Regions from separate parts of the Homo sapiens genome. Here region 1 is linked to region 2. The links are contacts of gene promoters, found by promoter capture Hi-C in blood cells and fetal thymus (Javierre and others, 2016). All regions are on one chromosome and are shown on one strand. The core of a region is centred on a gene start or on the middle of the fragment in contact, and the rest is flanking DNA. Distances in the headings are between cores, read along the strand shown. Region 1 overlaps NAE1 (NEDD8 activating enzyme E1 subunit 1). Region 2 holds the start of CMTM2 (CKLF like MARVEL transmembrane domain containing 2).

What was found. Contacts are between HindIII fragments. The CHiCAGO score rates a contact against its expected background, and 5 or more counts as called.
Region 1: a contact is called between a fragment that was not itself captured here and the fragment with the promoter of CMTM2 in region 2, in 1 of 17 cell types (activated CD4 T cells). The highest score is 6.0, in activated CD4 T cells.

The regions. Positions count from the first base shown.
Region 1 is chr16:66,808,195-66,810,894 of GRCh38, reverse strand. NAE1 (NEDD8 activating enzyme E1 subunit 1) reads left to right here. Exons shown (of 20, transcript NM_003905.4): 14 at 123-198; 15 at 482-521; 16 at 1,820-1,906; 17 at 2,282-2,374. Among named protein-coding and RNA genes, the nearest start is that of TERB1, 8.0 kb to the right of the region's middle. The HindIII fragment of the contact is 222 bases long and covers 1,156-1,377 here.
Region 2 is chr16:66,578,115-66,580,814 of GRCh38, reverse strand. CMTM2 (CKLF like MARVEL transmembrane domain containing 2) reads right to left here and starts at 1,352. Exons shown (of 4, transcript NM_144673.3): 1 at 923-1,352; 2 at 631-789. The coding sequence starts at 1,207. It overlaps CKLF-CMTM1 (CKLF-CMTM1 readthrough), which reads right to left. Exons shown (of 4, transcript NM_001204099.2): 4 at 1,680-1,984. The coding sequence ends at 1,814. CMTM1 (CKLF like MARVEL transmembrane domain containing 1) reads right to left here. Exons shown (of 4, transcript NM_052999.4): 4 at 1,680-1,984. The coding sequence ends at 1,814. The HindIII fragment of the contact is 2,154 bases long and covers 1-1,878 here.

The DNA.
Region 1 (2,700 bases), core at 17-2,516, 230 kb before region 2:
ATTTCATACATTGTCAGACCTGTGTTTTTTCATGAAAAGGAAAGAAAATTTTTGTTCATGGTAACAATTTAAATTTTGCTAATTTAAAAATTTGTTAGTAATTGCTTTTTATTCTTTTTTAGTTACCGTGAAAAAGCAAAGAAAGATGCTGCCGCTGTGGGTAATCATGTTGCCAAATTGCTGCAGTCCATTGGCCAGGTAAGCTACTGGGCACACTGTGCCCATACAGGCCTCAGCACGTAACTCCAGCCAGAAAGGGTTTAGAGACAGAGGGTGTGGCACTGCCTCTGTGCTTCTTTAGAGGGAGCTGTCATTTCCCTGCCTAATGGGATAGCTTGTGATAAGGAAACAAGATATTTTTAAAGTGCTCTCCCAGCTCTTGGAGAAAGCCTTCCCATCTCACAGTGATTGGCTTTGTGCCGCACCCTTTGTTAATCTTCTCTTTTAAACTGGAACAGAATCTGTATTTATCTCTTTACAGGCACCAGAGTCCATTTCAGAGAAAGAATTAAAATTACTCTGTAAGTCCCCTTGAATTAATTTCCTTATTTTGCTTGATAGAAATGTGCCACAGGGAATGTTCCCAGGTATTTTGAATGGTTGAAATTTTAAGTTTTCCATGGCCTCAGTGATATAGATATAGATAATTATTGGGTAAGGTTTTTTTTTTCCTCTCATAATACAATACATGGCGAGTATTTTAAGACTGAATCAGAGGTAGAACATGTTTATCTGTGGCAATGCTAAAAAGGCTTGACGGTCAGTTAATTGAAAATTGCCATTAATACAGGATTTTCAGTTTTTAAATTTTAAGTAATTTAGGAAGTTTTTTTGTCTGAAGACTTTGGGTGTGAAGTCTTGAGTCACATGTACATTGACAATATTGGTTTAAATACTCATTTTGATCTGTGTTAAATGACTGTAATGGAGTTAAGAATTTTGCCATCTAGTTTCGGAGTGGTTAGGTTCGTAGGAGTCTTCTCAGTAACTCCTCAGTAGGCCAAAAGCATTTTCTTTTATTTAAGAGTCAGTTTCAAAATACCCAATCTGTTGTGCATGCCATCTGAAGATTTCTCCCTGTAGCTACTGCTCCTACGTCCTGTGGAAGTTTATATTTTGCATGCTCCCCATCCTTAAAATAGATTTATCCAAGCTTTCCATTTTATGACTTCTCCACAATGTCTGTTTAGGCTCGGTTTTAATGTTTTCTGCCACTACTAATCTTGCACCTTGTTTGTTCTATTAGACTAATCTTGAATTAGCGTTTGTTGTATTAGATTATATAATACTAGATCACAAGTTTGATGCTGGGTATTTGAACATTTATTATTCTGTTCTACTTTGGGGCGTTTTTGAAAATTTCAATAATACAAAGCTTAAAGTCATTACATATATCAAGAGTACAATTCATAAACCTCTCTCCTTTAGGACTACTTATCCATAATAATGATGAAAACTATTATTTTTAGAGCCATATCAGGCATTGTGCTAGAGATGCACTTTATACAGATGTCACATTTAATCTGTAGAACAATTCTCAAAGGTAAACAGTATCATCCCCATTTTACACTTGAAAACTGAGGTTCAGAGAGGCCATCACCTTACTTGCTTCTGAACTGGTTGTAGTGCCAGGGATATAAATTTAAGGTGATTCATGTTCTAGTGCTTTCTCTGCTATTAGAACCAAGGAGAAAACATTTCTTCACATTCTCATGTCTGAGAAGGGTATACACATAATTCTCTGTTCTTAAAGTCACCTGTGATTCATAATATTCACCAGTCACAGTCATTACTTCCAGAATATCTTTCCTCTGTTCAGGCAGCAATTCTGCATTTCTTCGAGTGGTAAGATGTCGATCCTTAGCTGAAGAATATGGTTTGGATACAATTAACAAGGATGAAATTAGTAAGTATAATAGCCTTCTGATTCTGGGTTAATTTTAATTAATTTAAAAGATATAAATATTTTGTGTATAATAGTGTTGAGTATATGGTGATGATATTAAAGATAACGTAAACATATTCTAATTTTATTCTAAGCTTATCTAGGTAATTATAATTTATATATTATATGAAACTTAATGTATGCATAAAGTCATATTTAGGTCACTGAGTCCATTGTGTGATATGTATGAGTTAAAGTCAGTATGTTACTACTTCAGTAGAGATTGTGTGACTCCAGTTAATAGTCCTGAAACTCAAGTATATAGTAAATTCAGCCCTTCATTGTTTGTTACATTGCAAATTAACCAAATTAAACTGAAATTTTTTTTCCTTTCAGTTTCTAGCATGGACAATCCAGATAATGAAATAGTGTTGTACTTAATGTTACGGGCTGTTGATAGATTTCATAAACAACAGGGTAGATATCCAGGTAAGAATAGCAATTGAATTACCAGATATAATAAGATCTTCAATAAAACATTTAAATTGAAAGTGTTCTCAGGGTATTTATAATAGTGTTGCTTGAATTTCACATTGTAAACAGATTACACCCCAAACGTTCCCCAGTGAAGAACCACCTTTTGTTTTTTAAGTTTAACTATTTGCAAAATAGTGTTCGATTCTAAACTATTACAGGGGGATGTTGGTTGAATATGTATAGAAGAAAACTTTTTTCTGTCATTTTCCATAGTTTGTTACTAAGACTCACACTGAGTTTAATTTAGTGGAATAGGAAAGCCACAAGAAATATGCTGG
Region 2 (2,700 bases), core at 103-2,602:
TTGAATGTCAGTTCTGCAAGGAATGTGACTGTCTCATGTTACAGATGAGGAAACAGGCTGGGAATGGTTTAGTAACTTGCCCAGTTCTGTCTCTTTCCACTAGATGACTGCTTTGGGCTGAACATCCTTCTGATCCAAACATCCTTTATAGGGATATTCACTGGAGACCTAACGCTGCTTTAGAAGTGATTTTTAAAAAAAATTCCCATTTTGTTTTATTTTATTGACTTATGGGAGAGTAATTTTCTTCTTTGAATTTTGGGAATGGGGTCCTTCTGGGGTGATCTCCTGTCAAGTGTGAGCTGGCACAGGAGTTCGGAGGAACAGCTGGTTGCTACACCTCCCCTTCCCCTAAAGAGAACAAAGGCTCAGGCCCTCTTTGACCACCAGGTAAGTAAGAGTTCCCCACTCTCACTCCAACACACAGATAGGCTTTTTGGAGCATTTTCTGCCTAGCTACCCCTCTTGCACCCAGCTGCCTCTGCCTGGGCCCCACTGATGTTCTGAGTCCCTGACCCAGGCACAGATATGGGAGGTGAGGTGTGTCTCTCTGTTTGGTGACTTTCCAGGTGCCAAGACACACCTGATCAGCATTCTGGATGCAGGCACTCCCCATCACCCCTTACTTACAGAAATGGGCCACAGGATGAAGGGTATGTATCTATGAATGGCAAAGCTGTACAGTAAGATGAAGAAGCTGAAGAAGGATATCTCCATGGTGATGATAAGCCTCAAGATGGGGTGCACGGTGAGTGAGGACAACAGTATCATTGCAGCTATTAGGCAGCCCTGCAGTGAGACATAGACACCTGAGCCAGCAGCAAGGGCCTTTCACCATCTCTCTGAGGACCCCTGGAGCCTACTCCTCCTTCCCCCCACCCTCGGCCAAGGCCCCCCACCCAGGGATACCAGTTTAGCTCACCAAACTCCGAATCTTGATCTCAGCGTGCCCCAAGAGCCAGAACTCTTTATTGCTGTCTTTTAATTCCCACCGGTAGCGGCGACACCCCCTCCTCGTGCCCACTTCGTGCTTGGGCTGCACCGCCTTTTGAGGTTTGTCCGATGGCTCCTTATGGTCCTGCACCGCCTTTTGAGGTTTGTCCGATGGCTCCTTACCGTCCTTCTTGTCTTCCTCGGGTTTGGCCCCGGGTGGAGGTGGAGCTGGTGCTGGCTCTGGCTTGGCCCCCTTTGCCGCCTTAGGTGCCATGACTGACTCGGTGTCCTTGGCTTCTCACAGCTGGCCTGTTTCTTCTCTCTCCTGCTGTTTCTGGGTAGGCCAGGCCTACTAGAGTGCCTGGTGTCCACCGAGCGGCTCAGAGGGCGTGCTCAGCTAACTGCCAGGACCACCGAATGCCAACTCCCGCGCCCTCTCCACGCGCGCCCGTCTCCTCGCGCAGCTCCCATCCGCCCGGCAGCGGCCGGATCCTCCCACCCTCCACGCGCCGGCCCCCGACGGGCCCCAACTCCGTTCCCAACCCGCCGGTCCCACCTCCGCGCGGAGCTGCCCTCGCGGTCCCATCCCGGCGTCTCCAGGTGGCCCCAGGTCTGTAAGCCGCCGCTCCGCTGCGGGGTCGGGGGGCTGCGAGCACCGGGTCACGGCCCTGAGCTCCGCGGGCGCAGCGCCAAGCGCAGGAAAATACAACGCGACTTTCACACAAGGCAACGAGAGGAAGCAGGTGTTCTCGATAAAAGCAGCAGCCCTAATTTTATGGTCACATTTAGGCTGGAATGGGTGACAGCATGCGAGCTCGGGGGTGGGCTCGGAGGCAGCGATTCGACAGACACGTGCATCTGCTAGGGCGCCGGGCTGGCTTCAGGCGGGCCTCTGCGGGGCGTCGGGGCCGGTTTCGGGGTAGGCGTCCTTGGCGGGGGAAAGCTTCCTTTCAACTTCGACTCCCAGGAATCTTTTCAAGTTGGTCCTCATCTTCGTGGTGACCACAAACGCATCGATGCAACACACGATTACCGCTGTGAGACACAGGGACTGTCAGATACAAGACCATATGCGGGAAGGAAAGACGGGGTTATTTTGCAGCTCAGTAGCAACCTCTCGAACCTATCCCTATCCAGGGTGGGCGCTGCGGGTGGCCTCCTGTCCCCTCTGACCCTTCACTACTTTCTTGGCGCCTGCCCAATTGGCTGCTGCAGGCGGATTCTGCCTTTCCCAGAAAAAGGGATTTTGGAAGTGGGGGATTTTGTTGCCAGTAGTAGCCTCGCTTGATGTCTGAGGCACCCGGAAAGGACTAGGGAAGGGCAGTGGCCCTAGGTGGCTGCAGGTAGGGGTTAGGTCCTGAGAAGCCCTCTCCGTGGAAAGACTTTTGGGCTATGTTTGCAAAGGGCAGGAAGGAGTTCCTAAGGGGAGGAGGAGGACCCAGGCACTGGACTAGGGTCTCTAAGGAATCTGGTGTGGCCAGGACCTCCAGAGCCGCTGAGAAGGGGGCAGAGTTGAGGCTGGAGAGGTGCAGGATCTGGGACTCTATCAGGAGGTCAGGTGTGAGATTCAGAAAACCTGCTTGCAGTGTTCATGAGGTGAATGGAAGGTGAACCAGGCTGGAGGCAGGAAGACCAGTGCGTGGTGGGGTGGGATGCTGCCATCCAGGTAAGAAATGGATACCTGGGGGTGGGAACCCCTGGCAGTAGAAGGAGTGATAGCGGAGTCAGCCGATGGGGACCAGGGGCTGATGGCACAGATATTCCCCT